3 separate regions of the Homo sapiens genome follow, and all the other regions are linked to region 3. The links are contacts of gene promoters, found by promoter capture Hi-C in human tissues and cell types (Jung and others, 2019). All regions are on one chromosome and are shown on one strand. Each heading gives the region's core, a stretch centred on a gene start or on the middle of the fragment in contact. The rest is flanking DNA. Distances are from core to core; before and after follow the strand shown. Region 1 has its middle 23 kb from the start of SLC6A20. Region 2 holds the start of LOC124909374 (a long non-coding RNA gene). Region 3 holds the start of CXCR6 (C-X-C motif chemokine receptor 6).

Region 1 (4,481 bases), core at 437-2,936, 120 kb after region 3:
TCTCTGGTGCATGTGTCATAAGGAACACTCAGATTATTTGCCAGTTCATTCCTGTTCACTAGGTCCAGTTAACATTTTGTCATCAAAGTATTGGACCAGGATGATGTTCTACAGAATGTCACGATGATCAAGGACTTCTTTGGACAGTTTTGTAACAGAGCAGGAGGGTTTATATGCTCCTGGAGCAAAACTTTGAGTGTACACTGTGTTATCTGACCCAGGTGAATTCAACCTGTTCTTGATTCTCTTTTCTGAAGGGGATTTAAAAGAATTCATTAACCAAATCTCCAGCCTCATATCAAGTGCTGACTCGAAGGGATGCTACATCCAGCACAGCAGCTGCTATTGGAGCTACTTCTTGGTTTATGTTAGTCCACTGTCATCTTCCACTTTTGCTCTGTTTTGCTTTGCAGGAACCATTCAATGGGATATTGTGGGGATCACTGTCAATACTCCTGGGATGTTGCCCCTGATTTTGACCAGGAGTGGGGAGGGGGTGGGATGGAGAGAGCATTTTGGAGCATTAAATAAGCCTTTTCTACCATTATGGCTCTTATCCCTCAGGTCAAGAAACCAATTTTGGGGTCTCTCAGTTAAGTGCACTCATCCCATTTATCCTCTCAGAAACAAGGGAGATCAGGGGATTGACCCACAGGCCTACTGGATCTGCCCTGAGATAGCCTTGGGTCAGAACTTTATAGATTGCCTATCTTATATGTCCCACTCTAACAAGAGGGCTGTGGTGGTGCTTTAGATCCCCTGGGTATGTCACTCAGGCCCTATGTTGAGTAGCTCTTGAAAGATGTGTATATTCTGCTTTCTCAGCATACAGTTACTCTGAAAAATGGCCATGGGGCTCTTTGGGAAAGATTTGAGACAGTGTGTATTATTTAAGATTGCTATAGTGCTGCAGGGCTCCTCCTCAGGAGACCCAGACTCTCCTTCAATCCATGGGCTCTGGAACTGAGAACTGACTAGGTCTGGTAACTATGAGAGATCAGGATTTTCCACTGTGGTGGCTGACATCAGTCTTTTACTCATCAGCTGTTTGGTTGGTTGGCTTGGTTTTATAACAGTAACTTCATTGACTGCCCATTCACCTCACCTCTAGGAGCGCCGTAATCTATTAGCCACTGGTCCTTGGCTCCCTGGTTGTTCTTCTGGCCTTACGGCCCATTAGGTTACTGTATTCATTTTATTCCTCTAATGTCTGAGTGCAGCCATTAGTTTTTTGTTCTGGAATCCTTCCTATCATAGGAGGCCCAGTTATGTGCCAGCATCTTCTGTTGTCAGTTCTAGCCAACAGAAGACAGCCACCACTGAGCTTCTCAACAATGTTAATGTCCCCTTACCAATGCAGTCTTTATTGTTTCAGTGAAGGAAATACCCCTGCCCATGGGTGGGCTCTCTCGCCTTATATCCATTCTAGCATGTCATCCCTCTGAGCCTTCTGAACCCTCCTCAGCACTCTTGTTAAGCAGTTGTGGAATCTCCACCTCGTTTTTGGCATACCATCATCCTCAAGCACCAAGGCCCATTGCAGCAGTGTATTAGGACTGGCTCCATGTGTTCTTACAAACATGCCAAATCCTGAGTCACAGAAGACAGTCTATGTCAATAAACTCTTCCTTATCCAACTTCTTTTCTACTTCCCACTAGGCCAGCATCCTCAAGATCCATAACCATACATGTTCTTCCAGTTTCTGCCAGTCCAGGTTCTGTTCTTTTGGGGGACTAATCCATTTCTTCTCAAAGCAGGATAATATTTCTCTGCATAGGGCATGCTGATATTCAGCCCTATTTATTGGTTTAGAAGTAATGAGTGGAAGTAGGGACCGATCCTGAGGAAGACCAAGGTTATCTTGCCAGTCTCCTTTCAAGAGAGGCCTTGGAATGGCTTCCAGGTGATAGGAGGCTACCCTCCTCTAGCAAGGGGGAGTGAGCCACTTCTTCTAGACCCAAGGGTTCAGAAGAATCTGGGATATCAAGGTCGTTGAGGGCATTTGCCCAAATGGGCCCCTCATATCTCAGAGTCACATTCCTTCCCAATCAGGGCCCTGACTTAAGCAAAGGAGACTTTCCGGGCATGTGAATTTGGTCTCCTTTGAATCTGCATCACTGCTGTAATCCAATCATGGGCCGGATTCTCAGTACATTCTGGCTTCTGCACATAGGAGATGTGGGTTCTTTTAAATAGAGACCTGGGGGCTTTCTAGTTGTCAGGGCATCTCTTCAGGTAATAGTTGGCTAATCAGAGACTGTCTTCTCTTCTTTCATTCCAATCCATACCCAGGTGAGAGTGTTGGTAACTAACCCAGTAGTGTGACAGGGTTTATCACCACTACACTTACTACTAGCAGTGGGATCCTGTTGTCATCTGGCTGGCATCAAGTCCAGTGTCTCATCCTGAGGCCACTTTCTAGGGCCATTTCTGGCACCAGATGTTTTATTTCAGCTCCCCCAAAAGCAAAACCCTGAGGCAGGGATCTTGGTTGAAGTGGGGAGGGGATCCCAGAAAGTGGGGTGAGGGTACGGAGGCATGAGGTAGGAAAGGGAAGAAAGGAGATAAAATGTGTGTTAATGAGCAGGTTAGCACTGTGGACCACCACGCTCAATCCCACTGAGACGTGAGGAAGCTGGGAATGTATCCACCAGGCCTTAATTTATCAAGATGAGGATTACTCCTGAGATGTTAACTCCTTGTTGTTGGACCTAGGCTGAACATGCTTCCGTAGCCAAGAAAGGGCTTCAGGTGAAGAGACACAGAGAACCTTCTGCAGGCCACATTCCAGGCTGGGATAAGGGGAATTGGGTGTGACATCAATAGCATCTCATCCCACAGTGAACTAAGAAGATAGAAGAGCAAATGCAAGGAATATTTGCATGCTTTCAATACTTACTCATCAAAGGGTCGACTCGACTTAGAAGAAATTACAAATCCTGCTTACCATTTTCAGCCCAGTATGCTCACGTGGCCAAGCCACAGCTGCCTTTAAATAGTAACAACTCTGAAAAAAAAAAGAACATCCCTGGACTGAGTGCCTGGAGCAGAGCCCGTCATTATGACTCAAGTATCACAGGTGCTCAATCCAAACACTTGTGAAATTGACTTCTGTTTCCTGGCCAAGTACTGCTTAAGCCATGAAAAACCTTAGTGGTTAGGTTGTAAAAGAAATCAGATATTACCTATAAAGTAATTTCCTAACACTAAAATTTCTCCATATAAATAACCCAAACTTCTTTAAAATCAGACATTAAAAACCTTTAATACAAAATATAATTTCCTGCCTTCTTAAGCAGTGAGTCATAAGCATAATCTTATCTTTTCCTGATGACTCAAAGTCATTATTACAAGTGTCAATTATTGTCCTGCACTGCAGTGCCCTCAGGGCTGCTGAGGTGTGGAGCTGTTTGCCCTTTTAATAAGTGATTTATAAGCACTGTTTTTTTAAACTGCTGCATCTACGTTTTATGGTTTATGCGTGTTCTTTCCTTTTAGGCTGGTAGCTAACATTGGTTTTGTTTGGTTTGCCAATCTCTTGCCATTTTCCAAGGTGGGCTTGGAAAATAAATGGAGCCATTTATTAGGATTGTACGTAGCTTCAGGATGAGGGCTTAAGGGACTCTGTGTGTGAAGAGCATAGGCTTTGTGGCATCTTTGCTGCTCCAAGACCTTTTTAGATTGCTTTATAAGAGAATGTTAGTCTTCCAGATTACCAGCTTTGTTTCAAATAGTTGGGGTTTCCAGGTAAATAATTTTGAATAAATGAGATTGTGAGCCTTTTATTTATTTCTCTTGCCTTATTGCACTGGCTAGGACCTCTAGTACAATGTTGAATAGAAAAGATAGCATCTTTGCTTCATGCCCAGTCTCAGGGAGAACACTTTAAATATTTCACCAATAAGAATAATGCTTGCAGGCTGGGCACAGTAGCTCACGCCTGTAATCCCAGCACTTTGGGAGGCCAAGATGGGCAAATTACCTGAAGTCAGGAGTTCAAGACCAGCCTGGTCAACATGGTAAAACTCCATCTCTACTAAAAATACAAAAAATTAGCCAGGCGTGGTGGTGCACGCCTGTAGTCCCAGCTACTCAGGACGCTGAGCAGGAGAATAGCTTGAACCTGGGAGGCAGACGTTGCAGTGAGCCGAGATCGCACCACTGCACTCCAGCCTGGGCAACAGAGCAAGACTGTTCTCAGAAAAAAAAAAAAAAAAAAAAAAGAATAATGCTTGCTATATTCGGTGTCAAATTAAGGAAGTTCTTTTTTATTCCTAGTTTGCTAGAAAAGCTTAAACTATAAATGGGTGTTGAATTTTGCCAAATGCCTTTTCTGCATCTGTTGAGATGATATAATTTTTCTCTTTTTTCTGTTAATGTTGTGAATGATATTTAATTTCTTACTGTTAAACTATCCTTAGAGGCCTGAAACATACTCCACTTGGTTGTTGCATCAGGTGCTGTAGAGAACGGTTCCATC
Region 2 (4,330 bases), core at 251-2,750, 76 kb after region 3:
TATCCACGTTTGGGAGGTGTGGGGAGAAGGCCTGCCCCATGGTAGCCTTCTAAACAGAGAAGGACCATAAGGGCTTGATGAGACAATGTATCAGAGAGGCTTGGAAACTGTAATATGTTGGGAAAATATCGGCTGTTATTATGATTTTCTATCATGTAGATGATATACTTGCTTTGGAATCAGAGAGAGTTGGGTTTACCCCCCCTACCACTGACTGAGAATTTGAGCAAGTCACTCAATCTTGTTAAGCCTCACTTTTCTTAACTATAAAATGAGAGGCTATTATTTAAACAAAGCTATATTTGCAAATATTGACTCAATACATATTTACATATTCATTTCTCTCTCTGTTGACCTAAGTGAACAAAAGCTTTACATGTGTGTATGTGAGTAACTCACTAAACATTTCTGCTAAATGCTGAGAATCTAGAACCAGAACTTGGCTAAAAATCCACTCTAAAACTGTTTAATGAAACAGCTTTGTTAAGAGTCATCTGGCTCTCTAAGGTTTGAAAAACTTCTCAGGGAAGCCAGAATGATTTATGGTTTGCTACCACAACTCTACGAAGCGAGTGGTTTCAATCAAGTTTCACTTGCACAGGTTCAGTAGAAAGCTGGGGAAAATCCTCTTTTTTTTTTTGCAAAAAAATTAAAATACTTTTTAAAAATTTATATATATATATATTTTTATTATACTTTAAGTTCTAGGGTACATGTGCACAACGTGCAGGTTTGTTACATATGTATACATGTGCCATGCTGGTGTGCTGCACTCTGGATAGCTCTGGTGATGAGAAGGATTCAAGGGCAGCAATTTTCTTTCAAGAGGATTTTCCATTATATATATATAGCATTAAGAGATATACCTAATGGAAAATCTTCTTGAAAGAAAATTGCTGCCCTTGAATCCTTCTCATCACCAGAGCTATCCAGAGACAGAACATGGAACCCATTCCAATGGGGCTGACATTTATCTTTGGCTAATATAGGTTTTCTTGTTCGTTGTCGTTGTTGTTTTGAGACAGGGTCTTGCTCTGTCACCCAGGCTAGAGTGCAGTGGTGCGATCACAGCTCACTGCAGCCTTGACCTCCCAGGCTCAAGTGATCCTCCCACATCAGCCTCCCAAGTAGCTGGGACTACAGGCATGCACCACTGTGCCCAGCTAATTTTTTGATATTTTGTAGAGATGAGGTCTCACTATGTTGCCCAGGCTGGTCTTGAATTCCTGGGCTCAAGGAATCCTCTCACTTCCTCCTCCCAAAGTGCTGGGATTACAGGCATGAGCCACGGTGCCCAGCCTAAGATGAGTTTTCTAAAGAAGTGCTAAATAGTAACAATATAAACTTCCAGCCTTGCCTTTTAATTCCAATTCACCCCAAAGATTCTTTAAGCAAGGTTGATGGATGTGTTCAGACTAGCAGGTGCAAGAAAAAAAAAACTTGAATTGCGGGAATTTGGCAGGAGCCAAGGACAGTTCTGGCACAAGAATGGCCCGGAAGTGCCCATCATTACAAGTTTACTCTCTGCCAGCATTGTCATAAGCAGTTTTTACACCATATTTTAAAATTTTAACAACACCTTGAGAGGAAGATATTATTATTACTCCCATTTACCAAAGGGGAAACTGAGTGAAAGAGAAGGCAATTAACAAATTAATTTAAAAGATGAAAAATGTAACTATCTTTTGGGTTTTTTTTTTTTTTTTTTTTTTTTGAGATTGAGTCTTGCTCTGTCACCCAGGCTGGAGTGTAGTGGCATGATCTCGGCTCACTGCAACCTCAGCCTCCTGGGTTCAAGCGATTCTCCTGCCTCAGCCGCCTAAGTAGCTGGGATTACAGGCATGCGCCACCATGCCCAGCTAATTTTTGTATTTTTAGTAAAGATGGGGTTTCACTATGTTGCCCAGGCTGGTCTCGAACTCCTGACCTCAAGTGATCCGCCTGCCTCAGCCTCCCAAAGTGCTGGGATTACAGGCGTGAGCCACTTCACCTGGCCGCAACTATCTTATTTTTAGCTACACAATGTAAAACCAAATTGTTAACCTACTTAATTGGATCCATTAATTGTTGTGGGATAGCCTCTATGGTGAATACAAGTCTTCTGTGGTATACACAAAGCTGAATATTACAGCACTATTGGTTATATTGAAAGACTCTAAACAACCCAAGTCTAAAATCAATTACTGTAGATCCAGGCAGTGGAAGGGTGTGAAGCCATGGTATGTTTTCAAAGAACTTTTAGTGACATGAAAAAGCCCTCATTATATACTATGAAATGAAGAGGGTAGGCTCTTTTACACATTCATTTATTGATCCAAACTTAGTTATCCCACAATTGCTTTTCCAGCATAGTTCTGTGAATACGGCTGGTGAATCAGGCAGGCTTGCCCTTGTAGAGCTGACTGTATGGTGGACGTGAAACTTTCCTGGAAGAAAAAGCCCCAAAATGTTAACGGTTTTCTTTTTGAAAGTGTAGGGGCTTTTAAATTTTTCGTCTTCATTTTTACATTATTTCAAAATGTTCTATATTAAGCATGTATTACTTTTTTGTAGATTCATTGAGTTATGATTAGCGCACTATAAACTACATGTTTAAAGTATGCAATTGGATAAATCTTGCTGTAGTACACACCGGATCAATCATTAGCACAATGAAGGTGGTGAACATATCCATCACCCCAAAAGTGTCCTTGGACCCATTTGTTCTTCCTTCCTCCCACCACGCCACCACCCCTCGCCACATTCAACCACCGATCTGCTTTCTGTCACTATAGTTTGGTTTGCATTTCTAGAATTTTATATAAATTGTAATACATAGCAAATACTCTTTTGTCTGGCTTCTTTCACTCAGCATCATTTTGAGATGCATTCACGTTGTCATGTGTACCAATAGTTGTTTCCTATTATTGTGGAATAGTATTCGATTACATGGCCTATACCAGTTTGTTATCCATTCATTGGTTTGTAGACATTTGGTTGCCTCTGATTTTCGGTTATTACAGACAACGCTGTTATAAACGCTCAAGTATTTGCAGGAACATATATTTCTTTCTCTCTTGGGTAAACACTCAGGAGTGAAATGGCTGGGTCATATGATAACTCTATGTTTAACTTTTTGAGGAACTGCCAAACTGTTTTCAAATGACTGTATCATTTTTACATTTCTACCAGAAGTGTATGAATTCATCGTTCCCTCTCTTAAAATTACATAAGAACTAAATGTTTACCTCCTGTTATAAAAAGAAAATCCAAAAACTTCAGAAATATAGAGTAAGAAAAGTGAACGTTCCCTTTTATTCCATCCCTTTCCTAGTTCGTCATACATATTTATCATTAAAAGTTTGGTGTGTGTTCATCTTTTCTTTGCAAGAGTCTGTGCATGTGTGTGCATGTGCACGTGTTTGCATGTGGAAGCATGTAGTGCGTGTAAGTGAGATTTTGTGAGCTCTGTTGCTCTAACTCTGGTTTCACTCACTGAACAATGAAGCTTGGAGGTCGTTCCTCATCAGTGCATGTAAACCTCAATCTTTTGAATTGTTGCTGAGTATCCTACTTCAATAAGCAGAGGGAAGAGGTGTTTTAAAATGTGGTTAGAATTCTGTTTACCCTTCCTCTGAAAGAGGCAGGTCTCTTCAACATTTTCTACTCATGTGACAATTAGAGAAGCTCCTTCTTCTCCTCAGGAAAGGCTGCCTGTGGGGAAGGATTGCATTTCTTTCGGTGGATCTGGGTCTTCTGGGAGCAGCACAGGCATGATCACCCTTCTGGAGAGTGATAGAACGGTCAGTGGAAATGTAATCGATGGCCACAAGGTGTGACAGCTCTGCCATCACATTCGGTTTATGCTTGTTTCACGTTCCTCAGAGCAGAATTGCCTTTCCAGGCCCACCATTTGTTCTGGTACTTGGTGGTGAGGAAGCTCACTTTAAGTGTAGTCATTCTGAGAAGGGCAAAAGGGCTTCAACTCTTCAACTTTCAGCTCTGGAAATGAGTAAAACTGGGAGTTTCTTTTTATCATGTTAGAAAATTTACCACATTGGCTGAATGTGGTGAGAAAACCTACTCCCTTGTTAAAACAGACAATAATGCAGCACTCACTTGGTCAGCTAAACAGTTTTTTACTGTCTCCTCATGTGTGTTTTTTTCTCTCTTATATTCTTTTAATAATTAATGATACTAGGACTACATTAAATGGTACTTATTTATCCCTCTCTCAGCAATAACCTGGGGGCTAAATCTTTTACACTTATTAATACATAAAATTAGGACTATATTGTAATAAAGTTGCATATTCTGCACTGAACATTGGCATAAATGTTTTCATGTCATT
Region 3 (4,309 bases), core at 798-3,297:
CACCAGCCCTTCAAGATGTCACTTCTCTCTGACCCTTCCCTCTGCCCTGTGACCCTGCCAAAGACCATGGACAGGACAAGGGATCATGTAACCTGTGGTGTGGGAGCAGGGGCAGCTGCGGCAACATCAGCCCATGAGTGCCAAGTCTGCCCTTGCTACAGGACTGCAGATACTCAACATGCAGCAGCTCATTTCCAGTGACCTGGAGCCATGTCTGGCCAGCACCTCTAGAAGATGTATGAAGAAGAGCAGGTGTTTGGACAGAATCTCTGCCAGCAAAGTCAAAATATTGCCTGACCAGACAAGTGCATATAAACGATGAGGTTACCTTTCCTAATCCACTCAGAAACACTTCTGTCGCTGACTTTGAGTCCTGACTGGGAGCAGTGTCTCCGATGCTGCTGCTTGCCTCTGTCTTTCCAGGGACCAAAGTGCCCTTTCTCTCTAGCAAGGAAGGATGCTGCCTTTGGGCTAAGACTGCTTAATAAAAATCCTTGCCCTTACGTCACAATTGTTAGATCTCTAAGGGTGATAGGTCAGCCAGTAGACATCCTGCCCCCCACAAGCTCTCTGGGGCACTGTATTAAGTAGGTCAGATGATGTGTATGTGTTATTGATTCACATGGGCAAAAACATATTTTTTCATCATTTAAAATATGAAACAGGTGGCTTTGCTCTTAAGAATAATGTTCAGCTCCCCATTATTGCTTGACTCGCTCTCGCCTTTTTTTGGTATCTTCCTGTTCCAGCTTTTGCTGGTCCCTTATGCTGCCATTACACATTTCCTCAAAGGACCTGTGCAAATTCATGTGTAATAATTGGTAAACTTTGATGTATAATAATTGGTAAACAGATTGGGCCTGGACAGTGCTGTGCAAATAGAGTATGAAAAATTACTTTCCCTTCTAGGCGAACTAAAAACATTCATTTCTTTATCCTCTATAATTAAAATCCTATTTTGTTTTCTGAAAATTAAAAAAAAAATCTACAACTTTGGAAGTAGTGTAAAAGTCTGATAATGATGAAGCAAATTACAATTCATACATAAAATAGAATATACTTAAATGTTTAGGAAGTATTTTTACTGATTTTGGAAAATGCAATACAGTTAAATTGCTAAGAACAGTGTAAACACAAAGTAAATATGCAAAATAAGTATTAACTATTACTATTACAACAAATAGATGTCAAAAGGATATAAAATTGTGATTCTTAACCTTTTTTGACCATAAACTCCTTTGAGAATCTCCTAAAAACTGCAGACCTTTTCTCAGAAATAATGTATATATATATACACACACACACACACACACAGACACACACGCACACACACAAACACCCCTACAATTCTGGGAGTCCATGAACCCCTTGAATCCTTCTGCCATGTATTCTGTGGGCCCTCACATAAGAGTTCATGATAAACTATGTGATTTTAACTGACCGTACTTTTAGAAACCTGGAAAAAATGATCACATTTTATTAACAGTTGGCCTCCAGCTGGTGGAATTATGGGTGACTTATTTCTTCCTTTTTTTAAAATAGTTTTCAAAGTTTCTACAGTAGTATGTTGATTTATATTGAAAAAAGAACATAAATGATAATCTGATAAAACAGCCTGTCTTATGCAAAAGAAATGAAAACAGAGATTATTCATTGAGCAAATATAGACAATAACTAGATTCTCCTTATCTCCCTGGGTGGGTCTGACTATGCCATTACTAGCAGTACCATCAGCCTGCAAGCACTAACTGTGTGCCTGGAAACATGTTCAGTAGTTTTCATGTTTCTCCAGTTTAACCCACACAGCAGCAAATGGCAGTGATGGAATTTGAACGAAGAGCAGCTGAGCTCCATAGCCTGGCATTTTGCACTGTACCCTACTACAGACAGGAATCTGAGAATACCAACAATACCTGGGGTTAGTCCTCCCTGTCTTCTTTTCAATATAAAGAGTAAAACAAATGACTCACCAGCAGAGATGCTTTGCCAGTTTGTTCCAGAGATGAGCTTGCTCATGAAGCAAGGTCTGCCTCTACTTCTGTGATGTGGTTCATGTTTCCGCTGAACATTTTTTAAGAGCCCTCAGCTGGTTACTATAAGAGACCCACCCCCTACTCCCGTCCTTCAGATCAGAATCCATATGACCAACCCGCCCCTGTGTAACGCGTGGGTCAGAGATGGATGGGTGACTGATACCCCACACTCCCTTCATTCTGCTTTGGGGCTGATTCTTCTGTCAGGGCCTGACGAGCTTTATTCGTAAACTAAAGGGGAACAATAAGGAGGTTTGGCTCTGGCCATCCACCGAAGATGGTGGCATTTGTACCTTAAAATTACTTAATTCACTAGTCAGACATCTTTTTGGAACAGTTAGGGTCTGGGCCAATGCTGAGTCCATGGTATGGGCTGGGTTCTGCGTGCATATGCAGCTCCAGCATATGTGATAGCTGTTAAGCCCCATAGCAGCCCTGCAGTGGATATTATCCTGCCTTTATAGATGAGAACACTGAGGACCATAGCCAAAATAACAAGCCCTGGTGCACACAGCTAGAAACTGGAAAATCGAAGATACACACTCAGGTATCTGTCATTACCAGACCAATCAACAGCATGATGATGGGTCTGCCAGAGGGCCTGGTGCAGCCCCACCTCCTAAGCCCACACCACTCAGGCACTCAGCAGGCAGTGCCCACCCACCCTGCGTAGGCTGGCTGGAATCATCTGGTTTCCTTGGGCTGCCCTCTGTACTCCTGGAATTCCCCAGATGTTGACTACTTTGATCTCAGTACAGTTCTAGTTGTCAGTCTCCATGATCTAACATTACTGACCCTTCTGGGAAATAACGCTGGAAGGCAGGAATTGGAGGCATGTCAGCCTGGGTCACATGCCCCAGTGCCTTGTAGTGGAGAGGGTACTAGGGAGAGGCATGGACTCGATGTCTGCTTTCCCAGAAGCAGCTGCCTTCTTGTGGAGGTGCCTGGCCTGCCTTCTCTGGCTCTGCACTCCCATTCAGGCTGCTTCTCTCCAATGCTGTTGCTCTCTCCCACCTGCTAGGCAAACCTTCTCATGTGGCTCTTCCTAAGGGCAAATGTCAAGCATTGGGAGCAGGGACCAGGAGCAGCCTCAGGATCCAGAGACTAACACTCATTTCTACCGCAAGCCTGGCCCTATGCTGGATGCTTCTATGTACAGCCATCTAATCCTAGTCACGTACAGATAGGCAAACAGAAGATTAGAGAGATTAGCCCACTTGCCCAAGAACACACATCCCTGGCAGTCACCCAGGACTGTCAGGCTGCAAAGCCAGTGCTTCCTGCCCTGCTCTGAGTATGGAGCTGTGCCAGGGGGCCCTGATAAAAGATCTGAAGACCTCTAGTAGGTTTGCAGGCCTTTTTGAATGAATTCGTTCAGACTGTCCTTTCTACCAAACTGGTACAAATGAGTGAGGTGTTCCTTATGGGCATGAACCATGAGGCCGCATAGACTACATACCGATGGACAGATGGATGTAGGGAATGGTGGACAAATGAATAAAGGAACAGACTGAGCCAAATATGCACCTGTCTTCCTGAAAGAGAACTTTCAAGGCAGGGTGGCAATTTAATGTAACCCTGCCTGACATTTAGGAATCTTTAAGCTTTGAGAGCTGAGTTTTACCCAGGGACAACCAACCATGCCATTCAAGACAGGTCCATAGGGCAGTGTTAGAATGGCCTGAGCCTTGTCAAGCACCCTTGGCCATGCTTTTCTCAGCAAGCCTTTCTACTCCATGGGGAAAAACAAGCCAGCACCTGGGGCCCTCCATGACTGTGTGTACATGTCAATATGGGGATATGTGTATTTGAGAAAGCATGGCTTGTTTATCGTGGCCATTCTTTAATAGAAACTTCTCTATAGTACAAAAGACTTTCACCTAAATTTGAGGAGCTGAGCCACTTGCAGGTTTGGGGCTAAAATTTTATTTTAATCACTTTACAAAATGCCGTTTACTATCTGCCAATTTATAGTGTTAATTGTTTTAAGGGCATTACTTTTATTTGAAACAAAACTTTGAACTTCCTAAGGGTGGGAACCCAATCATATATGTCTTAGATTTCCCCAGAAATACCTAAACATTTTCTAAATAAAATTGAGGGAAGAGTAAAAAGGAAGTGGCAGACATACCTGCTGCAGATTTATCTTGGAAGTCAGACTGTTGGCCTGCTCTCCTTACCTGAAGACCTGGCAGAGCTGTTATCAGTTCCAGGATTCAGGGATGAGACATTTACAGTTGTTGGCAAGGCATTGGTGGATGATGGGCTGTGATCCA

The links. The method cuts DNA at HindIII sites, captures the fragments that hold promoters and counts their contacts. A contact is called where the count stands out against the background at its distance.
Region 1: a contact is called between a fragment that was not itself captured here and the fragment with the promoter of CXCR6 in region 3, in 2 of the 25 tissues and cell types used here (adrenal gland and aorta).
Region 2: a fragment that was not itself captured here is called in contact with the fragment with the promoter of CXCR6 in region 3 in 2 of the 25 tissues and cell types used here (hippocampus and liver).

The regions. Positions count from the first base shown.
Region 1 is chr3:45,816,809-45,821,289 of GRCh38, reverse strand. No RefSeq gene overlaps it. Among named protein-coding and RNA genes, the nearest start is that of SLC6A20, 23 kb to the right of the region's middle. RefSeq lists an enhancer at 2,299-3,498. The HindIII fragment of the contact is 5,505 bases long and covers 1-4,438 here.
Region 2 is chr3:45,864,532-45,868,861 of GRCh38, reverse strand. LOC124909374 (a long non-coding RNA gene) reads right to left here and starts at 3,908. Exons shown (of 2, transcript XR_007095900.1): 1 at 3,607-3,908; 2 at 2,291-2,426. It also overlaps a transcript of LZTFL1 not described here. The HindIII fragment of the contact is 6,101 bases long and covers 1-4,330 here.
Region 3 is chr3:45,941,202-45,945,510 of GRCh38, reverse strand. CXCR6 (C-X-C motif chemokine receptor 6) reads right to left here and starts at 2,047. Exons shown (of 2, transcript NM_006564.2): 1 at 1,971-2,047. All of the region lies in intron 14 of FYCO1 (FYVE and coiled-coil domain autophagy adaptor 1), which reads left to right. The HindIII fragment of the contact is 14,146 bases long and covers 1-4,309 here.